Linked DNA regions of Homo sapiens: all the other regions are linked to region 2. The links are contacts of gene promoters, found by promoter capture Hi-C in human tissues and cell types (Jung and others, 2019). All regions are on one chromosome and are shown on one strand. The core of a region is centred on a gene start or on the middle of the fragment in contact, and the rest is flanking DNA. Distances in the headings are between cores, read along the strand shown.

The links. Contacts are between HindIII fragments. The study calls those that stand out against the background at their distance.
Region 1: a contact is called between a fragment that was not itself captured here and the fragment with the promoter of RAX in region 2, in 1 of the 25 tissues and cell types used here (H1 embryonic stem cells).
Region 3: a fragment that was not itself captured here is called in contact with the fragment with the promoter of RAX in region 2 in 1 of the 25 tissues and cell types used here (mesendoderm cells).

The regions. Positions count from the first base shown.
Region 1 is chr18:59,322,756-59,326,509 of GRCh38, reverse strand. No RefSeq gene overlaps it. Among named protein-coding and RNA genes, the nearest start is that of CPLX4, 6.0 kb to the right of the region's middle. The HindIII fragment of the contact is 3,967 bases long and covers 1-3,249 here.
Region 2 is chr18:59,272,204-59,275,999 of GRCh38, reverse strand. RAX (retina and anterior neural fold homeobox) reads left to right here and starts at 2,546. Exons shown (of 3, transcript NM_013435.3): 1 at 2,546-3,082; 2 at 3,386-3,639. The coding sequence starts at 2,794. The HindIII fragment of the contact is 4,384 bases long and covers 1-2,810 here.
Region 3 is chr18:59,225,400-59,229,442 of GRCh38, reverse strand. GRP (gastrin releasing peptide) reads right to left here. Exons shown (of 3, transcript NM_002091.5): 2 at 3,709-3,951. Among named protein-coding and RNA genes, the nearest start is that of GRP, 7.3 kb to the right of the region's middle. The HindIII fragment of the contact is 4,769 bases long and covers 151-4,043 here.

The DNA.
Region 1 (3,754 bases), core at 17-2,516, 52 kb before region 2:
AAATAAGACAGTTGGAGTTCCAAAGGACCACCCAAAACACAACTTTGATATGGGAGGTGGGGATCAAATTTGGATACCAGATTGGACAAAGCTCGAAAGAATTCTTGAATTAGAAGATAGACCTGAGCAAATTACCGAGAGTACAACACAGATATTAAAGTGGTGGAAAATGCAATAAATTGGCAATTGGTGAGAAGGTACAACATAAGTCTACCAGTAGTTCTAGAAGGAATTGGGAGAGTCATGATGAGGAACTGTTCAAAGGTGTAATAGCTAAGAATTTTTCAGAATTGATGCACACACGTATTTGAAGAATCTTGAGTCTGAGGCAGGGTTGTAGGTTGGAGAAGCTTCCCACAGAAGATGTTATCTGAGCCATATGCTGAAGTATGTGTAGTGCAAGGGGGACTGGAAGTGAACTTACTCCAACCAGAAAAAATAACATGAACAAAAGCATGGAGTTAAGAAACTGTAGTTTATGTGAGAACCTGTAAGCTTATTCTGCTATGCTGGGAAAAATGTTGGGTGGGATATACAGAGGCCAGATCCCAAGGCTCTGTAAAGGAGCTTGGACTTCATCCAGAGGGTAATGGAAGGCCATGAAAATCAAGCAGAAAGGCAATAGCATTTCAAACATTGCAATCTCTGTTTGCTTCATGGAGAATGGATTGGAGGAAGGAGACTTGAGAGAGACCAGCCGCAGTGCTCCCAGTGAAAAATGGTGGCCTGAATGAAGGCCAAAACTCTTATCAATAGTAGCATTGGACAATTAGAGTTAGTTTGGGCCACTCTAACAAAATACCATAAATGAGGTGGCTTATAAAAAACAAATTTATTGCTCACTGTTCTGGAAGACTGGGAAGTCGAAGATCAAGACCCTACCCTAACAACCCAATCACCTACAAAAGGCCCCATCTCCTATTAGTAACACCTTGGGCGTTAGGATTTCAACATAGGAGTGTTGGGACAAAACGTTCAGGCCATAGCAAGCATCTAATGACTATTAGAAGTGGGGAGTGAATGAGAAGGAAGAATGTAAAATGATACTCTGTTTCTGGCTAGTAGAATTAGATGTAAGGTGTCCTAAAACAGGGAACACAAGAAAAAGGATGGGAATTGAAGACGAGGGAAGAAGAGGTTGAGTTCCATTTGGAACATAGATTCTGACATTAACTAACCAAGTAAAAATGGCCAGAAGGCAATATAGGCTTGGAGTCAGGGCAGAGACATACCTTAATCTTTTACCTCTAAAATGGGGTGATAATTGAGATAACAGAGCACCATAAATAGAGCTTAGAAACGAGATGCTTATGCCCAATAAATGTTAGCTATTGTTAGTCTATGCGTCTGAAAATCAGAGAGAGAACTGACCCAGAACAGTACAACACAGGATTTTTGGCTCTTTACCTGCTCATGAGTTGTAAAAAAAAGGAAATGGTCCTCAGCAGTGCTGGGAGTCCCATTCCGTTTCTCAGATCCTCACAAATAAGTCCAGAAGCTGCCTGGTCAGCTGCCACATGGCATTTACTCTTTTTCTCTTCTCTGAACCCCTGTGATGTCCATTGGGTGTTGCTCCTCCTGATGGCGTCATCCCCTATGTTGGCCCTTAACTGCTCTTTATTCTGGATCTGCCATTTCTGCCATGTCAGCCCAGCAGTGGCACCGTTTCTGCCATGTTCCATCACACACACAGGCCCCACTGCTACTCAGGAGGATTTCACTGTCCTGCCAAACAAGCAGCCACTTCTGTCATCTGGACCAGGCACCCTCACGACTGCCATTGCCCACAGAAGCAATGGAGGCTTCCAGGAGCCAGTCCATGGAGTGGTGTATTAGGTTCTTCAGAGTAACAACCTTTAAATACATACACGCATACATATACACATATATACATATAAAATAAGTAAGGTATGGCTCACATGATTATGGAGGCTGAGAAGTCCCACGATCTGCCATCTGCAAGCCGGAGACCCAGAAAAGCCAGTTGTATAACCGGAAGGCCTGAAAGCCAGAGCCAACGGTATAGAGTCCATCTGAGCCTGAAGGCCTGAGGACCATGAGTGTCCCGGGCAGAGGAAGATCAGTGTTCCCAGCTCAAGCAGAGAGCAAATCCAACTTTCCTCTGGCTTTTTGTTCTATTCAGGCCCTCACAGATTGGACGATGCCCACCCACACTGGGGAGGACCATCTGCTTTCCTCAGTCAGCCAATTCAAATGCAAATCTCTTCCATGAACAGCCTCACAGACACACCAGAAACAATGTTTAACCAGATAATGCTGGCATCCAGTGACCCAGTCAAGTTGGCATGTAAAATTAACCATCATGGGTAGTTTGTGGCCAAATGGAGAAGAATGACTCTCTCCCCGCTGCATGTTACTTTCTGTTAAGAAAATACTAAAGCAGTGATGCATGGGCCCCAGTGTCAGAGTTCTCAGTGAGAATGGCTGTTACTATTTAATTAAAGGTCTATCTCTAGGAAACAGTCCTAATGGGTTCATGAGCCTTGGCCAGGGTGAACCTGAGTGAAAGACACTACAGAATTCCTCAAGCCTCTGGGAACTAAGGCTTTGTAACTGAGGCAAACTTACTGTGTCTGCTCTGGATGAGTCTCTCCTAAGAGCCTCCTTAGTACTTAATGCAAATAGACTTATTGCTAGCCATGCCACGAATGTTACAATTTGCCAAATATACCTGAATTCCAGGCATGAACATAGCTCAGCTCAAACTGGTCAGCCCACTGTGTAAACAGTAAGTTAGAAAATTAATCTTTGGTTCCCAGCCCATCTTCCCCTTCCATGTAGAACCAGCATGGCAATTTACAATCAGATCATGGAAGCCAGCATGTCCTGTTAGAAAATAACAACCACTGAATTGCCTACCAACTCAGCACTCGACCAACATGGAAGTTCTGTGGTAGAGAGGATACGGAATAGAATACAGTTATTACCTCACCAGAAAGTGATGTCTGTGAACTGAAATAGACCAGTCATACAGTGTTGGCAAAAGAAATACTTTAGGGGCTAGGCATGGTGGCTCACACCTGTAATCCCAGCACTTTGGGAAGCCAAGGTGGGAGGATCACTTGAGCCCATGAGTTTGAGACCAGCCTGGGCAACATAGCAAGACTTCATCTCTACAAAAAATAAAAAATTAGCCAGGTGTGATGGTGCATGCCTGTAGTCTCAGCTGTTCAGGAGGCAGAGGCAGGAGGATCGCTTGAGCCCAGGAGGTCAAGGCTATAATGAGCCATGGTTACGCACTCCAGCTTGGGTGACAGAGTGAGACCCTGTCACACACACACACACACACACACACACACACACTCACACACAGATTTTGAAACGTTCGGTATAACACTGCTGAATATTTCTGGAAGACAGAAGAATCAGCCCGGGATACATTTCTTAAAATGGCCACTTTGGGAGACAAAGGATTGAGATGCTTTGAGTCTCCACAGAGTCACAAATGGTCTCACAATCTATCAGATAACAATGGGCCAAGGTAGTACTGAAGAGACTCTTTGGTTCTGTAGCTCAATGAAAACCATACTGTCATGATTGGGGAATTTCTTTGCACAGCTGGTATATAGCCTTGAGTTTGTATCTACAAGAATATTAACCAATCCTATAGAAATGAAAACAAACATGCTACTTGGCCTGGCATTTCAATACAGTTCATTAAATATGTATTAAGCATCTATGATGTACATGACACTCTATTAGGTAAAACACAAACCACTAAAATGTCTCCAGT
Region 2 (3,796 bases), core at 1,297-3,796:
GGCAGGAGCTTAAGGAAACGCTGCCAATCTTTGTTTAGCGGTGATTATCGAGATCAATTTAATATTGGGGAAGTTTGCATAAAAAGCATTCTCGGTCAGAGGGGGAACAACAAATACCAATTAATTATCCCCACAGCTGCCCTCTGATCACCACCACCTCAGCACGTCAGCCACCTGGTCTATGTCACTGGCAGTCAGACCTTTTCGGGTGCCACCAGGCCATTTGTGGGCCCTGGAAAGGTGGAGGAGGGGCGGAGGAGGAGGCAAAACCTGGTCTGTCAGGGGACTTTCCAGAGGGTTTGTTAATTTGCCCTGGATGCCGGTACCCAAAGCCCACTCTCTATAGGCTCTGACTTTATTTCTTCTGGGAGCTAAACTGCTTCTACCTCCGCCTCTTAGATGCAGAATCCAGTCTCAGGGAAGGATTAAAGACAGACTGCAGGCTAAGATGGGCTTTGATTCTTTTCAAAAAGATCACACACTACAATAATAATTACAAATGAGCTGCAGGCAGAAAACACTGGACAAGGAGTCAGTGGCCTGAGTTCTAGTCCTGACCCTTCCACTTAATAGCTGTATCACTTTGAGCCTCAGTTTCCTCTTCTGTAAAATGGGGACCAATATGTCTGTCCTGCTCACCTCACAAGGTTGTGAAGATCAGATGACATGAAGAATGTGAGAAGATTCTGAAACCTACAAAGTGACATGTCGAGAGAATTGCTTGAGCCCAGGAGTTCCAGGCTGCAGTGAGCCACCATCATGCCACTGCACTCCAGCCTGGGCAACAGAGAGGGACCCTGTCTCTAAAATAAACAGACAAATAAATAATAAGTAAATAAAGTAATATGTGAACACTGTAAAGTGCTATTAACTTTCATTAATTTTAGCTTTTTTCTTAAAAGATAATTTCTGACTTGAATTAGTTCAATTTCTATCTCCTGCAGTCACATGCTTGCCCTTATTTTAGTTTGCCATTATATAGTTTTATTAAAAGTAGATATGCCCATCATGGGGAATTAACCATTGAATGATCCTTAAGAAATTGACTTGTCCTCCGCAAACATCCTTCTAACACCAATTTAAAGGTTGGGGATCTGAGGATGTGTGTTTTCCCTCTTCCTTTGTCTTGTCTTCCAGACTGGACGTTAAACTCCACCAGGCCAACGGCCCTGGCCTTTCCCAATTTGTTTGATGCCCACGACGTGGCCCTCGACGGTTGCCTTGCCCTCTAAAGGGACGCAGCAAACGCTTGTCTGAACGCAAGCGGGATAAAGAAGACACCCCTGCTGTGGAGATCAGAGCGCCTACTGAAAAGGAGATTTTAGGGATATTGTCCTCTAGGTCCTTGAGCTTTTATAGGAAAGCATTTTAATTCACGGTTCAGGCCACCAGTTCAGGGAAGGCCAAGCGCTCGCCTCGGGTCTCGCCTCAGATTTGAGGGGTGAGACGTTCACAGCGCCATTGTCCATCCGCGCTGCTGGAGGTGAAACACACTCACCCTATCCAATCATCTTTCCAAGTGGCCGATCAGTCACTGTGGGCCACGGAAGCCTCGAGGGGGTCCAAAGGAGAAAGAACTGCAAGCCAATTACTCCTGAACCCTCGGGGAGGCGAGAGGCCTCTTCCCCGGGAGAAGGTCCTTCCCCAGCCAGCTCTGGGCCATCTCCTTGGCCCGGAGTGTTGGAGGGAGGCGGGAGTGCGACACCGCTGCTCATCAGTAAAGGAGCCCGCCCTCCCCGCAGGACAAGGGGCGGGAGCGAGGAACTCCAGGTGGGTCTCCTGCGGGACCTGAGCCCGGCAGCACATCCGACTCGGGGCTCCCAGTCTCCTGCTGGGCGATCGGGCGCTAGAGGTCACCGGACTTGCGGACATAAATGGCCCTGGGGTGGGCGCTGCGGGGAAGGAGGGAGGCTGCCGGCGCTCAAGTCCGAGGGGACTGGGAGGAGTTACAACAGATATAGACGGACAAACTAAACGCGAGGTCCGGGACTTCGTACAACCCAGCCAAGAAAGGAGTGGGTCCCGAAAAGGGAGCCAGCGAGGGGAAATTCAAACTGCGACGAGTGCGGGGCTGGGAAGCCTTCGGCTGGGTCTCGGCGCTTCCAGGGGGCACAGGCCAGGGTGGCGGCCCCGCGGAGGTGAGCCAGAGGGGGCTAGAGGGGCGAGTCTGAAGCTGGGGAGGGGTGCGTCCAAGGAGGGAGGTGACCCCCAGGGGGTAGTCTGAAGTGAGAGGGTAAGCCCGAAGTAGAGGGAGACAAACGCAAGGGGAGAGATGAGCCCAAGGGCGTCGGCCCCACTGAGGCAGGACTAGGGGTGCGCCGCGACCAGGTTCCCGAGCCCATCAGGCATCCCGCCGCGGATCCCCGGAGTGTGTTTGTAAAGCTTAAAACGGATCAAGAGGTGGAAGGGGAATATTCCTAGTGCCGGCCCAGGGGTGGCCACTAGAGGACCCTGTGGCTGGGCCGGGTGAGGACACGCCCCTCTGTGGAGGGAGGGGCCGAGAGAAGGGGCTGGGTCCAGGGCGAGAGGGGAGGAGCCGAGGGCCAGTTGGCTCCCCGCCTTTAGCGCCGAGAGCCCCAGCTACCCCGAGCCCGAACTTCCGACTTCTGGGACTAAGGCGGCAGCGGGCTGAGCGCTCGGCCACCCCCAGCGTGCGCAGCCCGGGCGGGCTTCGCCCGCGGAGCTTGACCTAGGGTCGGGACCCGTCGGGTTGCACCGCCGCACTCGGGAAGACCCGGCTTCGAGCCTCTCCTCTCCGTCTCCAAAGCGCCCTCCCGCCTCCCGGCGCTCCCCATGCACCTGCCGGGCTGCGCGCCAGCCATGGCCGACGGGAGCTTCTCGCTTGCCGGCCACCTGCTCCGCAGCCCGGGCGGGAGCACCTCGCGACTTCACAGCATCGAGGCCATCCTGGGGTTTACCAAGGACGACGGGATCCTCGGCACCTTCCCGGCGGAGCGGGGCGCCCGGGGCGCGAAGGAGCGGGATAGGAGGCTGGGCGCGCGGCCCGCCTGCCCCAAGGCGCCCGAGGAAGGCTCCGAGCCCTCCCCGCCGCCAGCCCCGGCGCCCGCCCCCGAGTACGAAGGTGAGTGCGCACCCCTGGCTGTGCGAGGCCGTTCGGGCGCCCGAGCTTAGGAGTTGGCCAGACGAGAGCGCCCCTTCCTTAACTTTTATTAAGGCAACTGGGCGCGGGGTTGGGGACCGTCTATGGCGGGAGCTTCCAATTTGCATTCAGAGAAAGCTTAGGACCCATCGCCGCCCTCACCACGGACCTCCCCGGGCCATCTCGGAGCCCGCAGGCGGGCTGGCCAGTGCCCACAGCGAGGCGGGGTCGGCCCAAGGGTGTTTTGGGGAGTGCATCTGACCCTCCCGGGCCTCGTCGCCCCAGCCCCTCGACCCTACTGCCCCAAGGAGCCCGGGGAGGCACGGCCGAGCCCAGGGCTGCCCGTCGGGCCAGCCACCGGCGAAGCGAAACTGTCAGAGGAGGAACAGCCCAAGAAAAAGCATCGGCGGAACCGCACGACTTTCACCACGTACCAGCTGCATGAGCTGGAGCGCGCGTTCGAGAAGTCCCACTACCCGGACGTGTACAGCCGCGAGGAGCTGGCCGGCAAGGTCAACCTACCAGAGGTCCGGGTCCAGGTAAAGCGCCCAGGTTGAGGAACTGGGATCTGGGAGGGCCCGAGGCCCAAATTGCAGCCAATGCTTCTCGGAATTCACGGGTGTCCATGCATTTATTACTGTCCTTCCTCGACTTGGCATGCCCAGAGTCTCAAGGGAGAGGCACAGATCTTCGATG
Region 3 (4,043 bases), core at 1,286-3,785, 47 kb after region 2:
GTCCGAAGATGCCACCACACATCTTGCCTTATGAGTCATTGGTCATAAAAGGGGCCAGCTAATGTGTAGGGAAAAAAATCTACATAACTCCCCCATTGGCTCAAAATATTGAATAAGAGAGGTTTGGCTGGAGGGAATAAAACTAAAAGGAAAAAGAGAGTTGTGGAACCTAGGAAGATCAAGGAACTGGGAGGCAATGGGCAGGGTCCATTGTTGGGGGTAGGGAGGAGCTATATTCCAGGTGGGGGCCAACTTTACTCTACTCCTTCATAGAAAGTGCCAGGGTAATCAGAAGGTTATGAGTGATTCTTGATTTTATGTTGCTTTTTCTATATTTGGCACTTCCTTTGGAGCATTTCAAATATTCAGAAAAAAGACCTTCCTATTCTCTGTACTGATTTGATGAGACAGTGAGAGCAGTCCCTTAAAAGTGAAGAACGAACACATTTACTTTCTTTCCATAACAGCCTTTGTAGCTCACTTCCTTGCCCTCTTCATGTCCACTAAATAAAAGGAGAGACCTAAGCTGCAAAGAATAAGGGACTAAGTCCAAATTATAAAGGTAGACCAAAGGCCAACTAAAACCTCCATTGAAACCCAGGACAGTGAACAACCACATCCAGGATCATGGATGAGGCCCTGGAGCTTCATCCATGGGGATGAGTTTCATGTTGCAGAAACAGAACAGAGTTTCATGTTGCAGAAACCATGGGGGAAAAGTTCCATTAATTGCAGAATAGAATTAAAAGATTTGTGAGAAGGGCACAGTTAAAAGGATTAAGGTTAACCTTGAACATTGCTGGGCATAATTGCTCTGAAAGTTCTGGAGCTGTTTCCATGGTCGAGCAATCTAGTTTCAGTGCACATTACACACATCCTTTATGAATTAAGTAAATATCTTTGTCATCAAAACATAGGAAATGCTTGGAGTTTCTAACCACAGCTCCAAGAGAGTTGGCAACAGTACTTGATGTTTTATTACTAAAATGAGAGAGGAGAGCATATGTAGATAGTTTTTAATTTTAAGAACAGTCCTTCAGCCTCTGAAAACTCCTGCTGCTAATTCTGGCAATGCTTAGCTAAGTTATTAAGTTTCCCTCTAACACTCCCATAACTCTAAGATATGGGAGATATATGGGTTCTAATAGAACTACTCTCTTGGCACCCCTTCTTTTTGAATAAGATCATTGTAAGGTGTTTTCAATTTTCATAACAGCATACTTTCATTGAGGTGGAATTTCCAGTGCAAGAGAAGCAATAAAATATTTTGGTCTCTGCAAACACTAACTGTGGAACTTGTTTTTGTGTTACTAGGAAATATAGCCAAAAGAATAGTACCAATGTGTGCGATAACTAATTATTCAACTGGAGGTGGAATTAAATGAGATGGGCTTTCTAAACCTGTAAAAAGAAAAACAATGCATAAAAATAATAGAAAAGCAAAGCCTGATTTTTTTTATCATCTTTTTGATGACCTTTTTCAGTTCACTTGGGATAAGGACTGCCCCCTTTAAGCAGTCACTCTCGGCAGCTGCCCACTCAACCCATCCTATTATACTGCTACTCAGACACCTTTGTGGAGCTATTCTTTTTGCTGTTGCCTTTGAAGCTTACAGAATATTCTTCTGAATGTGGTGGAAAATTTTTGATCCTTAAGGAAGGAGTTGAATTTGCCAAAAGATTCCAAAGATATGCAGAGCCAGGTTGAGGAAATAAAATAACAAACTGGACACTGCTGTTTGTTTCAAAAATGAGGCACTATAGAATAGTAACATGATTGTGTGTTAGTAGAGGGGAGTATTTCATGAACGAGCTATGAGGGCAAGTCCAGTTCAATGTTTGCAAAAATTATTTTCAAGGGTTTTGTGGTGGCAATTTTTATTACTGTTCAGACAAATGAGAAGGGTACTGCTGTTGGATATCCACCTACAGGAACTCTGGCAAAGCACCTGACCATGAAAAAGGCATGGCAGCTAGAATCTGAGAAGTCACCTGCAAGTTCACAGAACCCTCAGAGTATGGGATCAATCAGTAAAGAAGGGGGCTGATGACATAACACCTATGACACAGGTATGGACCAGACAATCGCTTGGGGTTTTGTACAAAGTTGGTATTTATTTCTGTATTGGTTTATTTAATCTAGGATTGTTTTTGGTTTTTGTTTTTTTTCTGAATAAAAGCTACAAAGACTTTCCCTCTAGGTGCTTAGTGCAACAAGTGAACTTCAGTTTCCATTTAGCATAGAAACCCACATTTGGGAGGCCAAGGCTGAGGGAAATCACTTGAGCCCAGGAGTTTGAGACAAGCATGGGCAACATAGCCAGTCCTTGTCAAAAAAAAAAAGAGAGAGAGAGAGCAAGAGAGAAAGGAAAGAAAAGAAAGAAAGGAAGAAAGAAAGAAAGAAAGAAAGAAAGAAAGAAAGAAAGAAAGAAAGAAAGAAAGAAAGAAAGGAAGAAAAGAAACCACATAGCCAGAACTTGTAAGAAAGGAAGGAAGAAAGAAAAAAGAAAAAAAAAGAAAGAGAAAGACCAGAATAGACCCAAAGGGCAGTGAAATAGAAAGCTTCCCTCCAGAAAGCCAGCCGAGGCTTGGCAAAGGCAGCTCTGAGCCCCTAAAGGGGCCATCAGTCTTCACCATGAAAGAGTGAAGAAGGAAGCTCTCCAGTACTGTGAGTGGAAAGCAATATTATTTATTGTCAGAAGCAGCAAGTAGCAAGGCCTTCAGCCTGGATCCTTTATATTAAGATCAATGAGGACCATTTCTGGAAGATGTCTGGCATGGTACAGACTGTCTGAGGCCGACTGAACACAGGCCCTTACCCTGATTTTATCAGTGAAAAGCTATGGGACTAGTTTCCTTACCTCTAAAATGGAGAGAATAATAGAATCTTCCGTCTAAGACTTCTGTGAGCATAAGCCGAGAAAATGGAGGTAAACTGCTTAGCCCAATACTTGGATTATCGTAAATATTCAGTAAAACTAGCCACCGTTGTTATTGTAATTATTATTTTGTATTTTATTATACATTTCATGGAAACTTAAAAGTTAGTGATAATCACCTCATTTTCAGTTGCCTTGCTTTCTTCCTGTAAATTTTATTCTCTCTTATCTTGCTCACTGTCTTTAAGCATTGCCAGTTTAGTATAATTATTTTCCCCTATCCTCTATAAAATCATATACAGGATGGATTTGTTGATCTCAGACATGTTCACTGAGTTTTAAAATATTAGGATGAAACCTGAACTAGGTACTCCTGGAACAAATATGAAGAAGTGCTACTTTGTGTCAAAGGTAGCAAACAAGAATGCTGTCTTCTAAAAACAGGAACTTCCACTAGTGTTCACCAGAAATAAAATAAAATCTGTAGATCCACAAGGATTTACTCAAATAGTTTGCAGACTCACTATCAAAACATTCTTGTAGGGCCTGTGTGTTAAAAAAAAAATCCCATCAATGCGTAATGGCAAATAGACAAAATTGCTGAAAAAAACTCCTAAATTGGAGTTTGGAATCAATATCCTTTTGACTATATGTCAAAAAGAAGAGAATGTAGAAATTGTCTGTCAATGTGCTTAGCATGTGTTAGCCTAATGTAGTGACTGTGAAGGTTTATATCATAAGCAATTCTATTCTTCCTCCTTTGAACTTGCCCTCTTTCCACCTCTCCCCAGATACCTCCCACCCCATCTTGCATGTATGTTTCTTTTACCTTTGCCTTTTGAACCTACATCTTTGAAGTTGCTGCTATCCTCTGAATCCCACGAAGGCTGCTGATTGCCCAGGGCCTTGGGTTGAGGTGGCTGGTGGTTTCTGTTCTCCTTTGCTTCTATGAGACCCAGCAAATTCCTTGCAGCTTCTTCCCACCTGATGTACTCTCTCAGCTGCTGCTTCAGGCTCCCTCTCTCAGAAACAGAAGAAGACTCCCCTGTGCTCTTTTTCCCCATTAAGTGCCCTGTAAAAACAAAAACAAAAACACTCAGAATGCCACAAATTTAACCAAAGGGAATGAATGAGAAATTTAAAAGAAATTTAAAGCTAATTGTG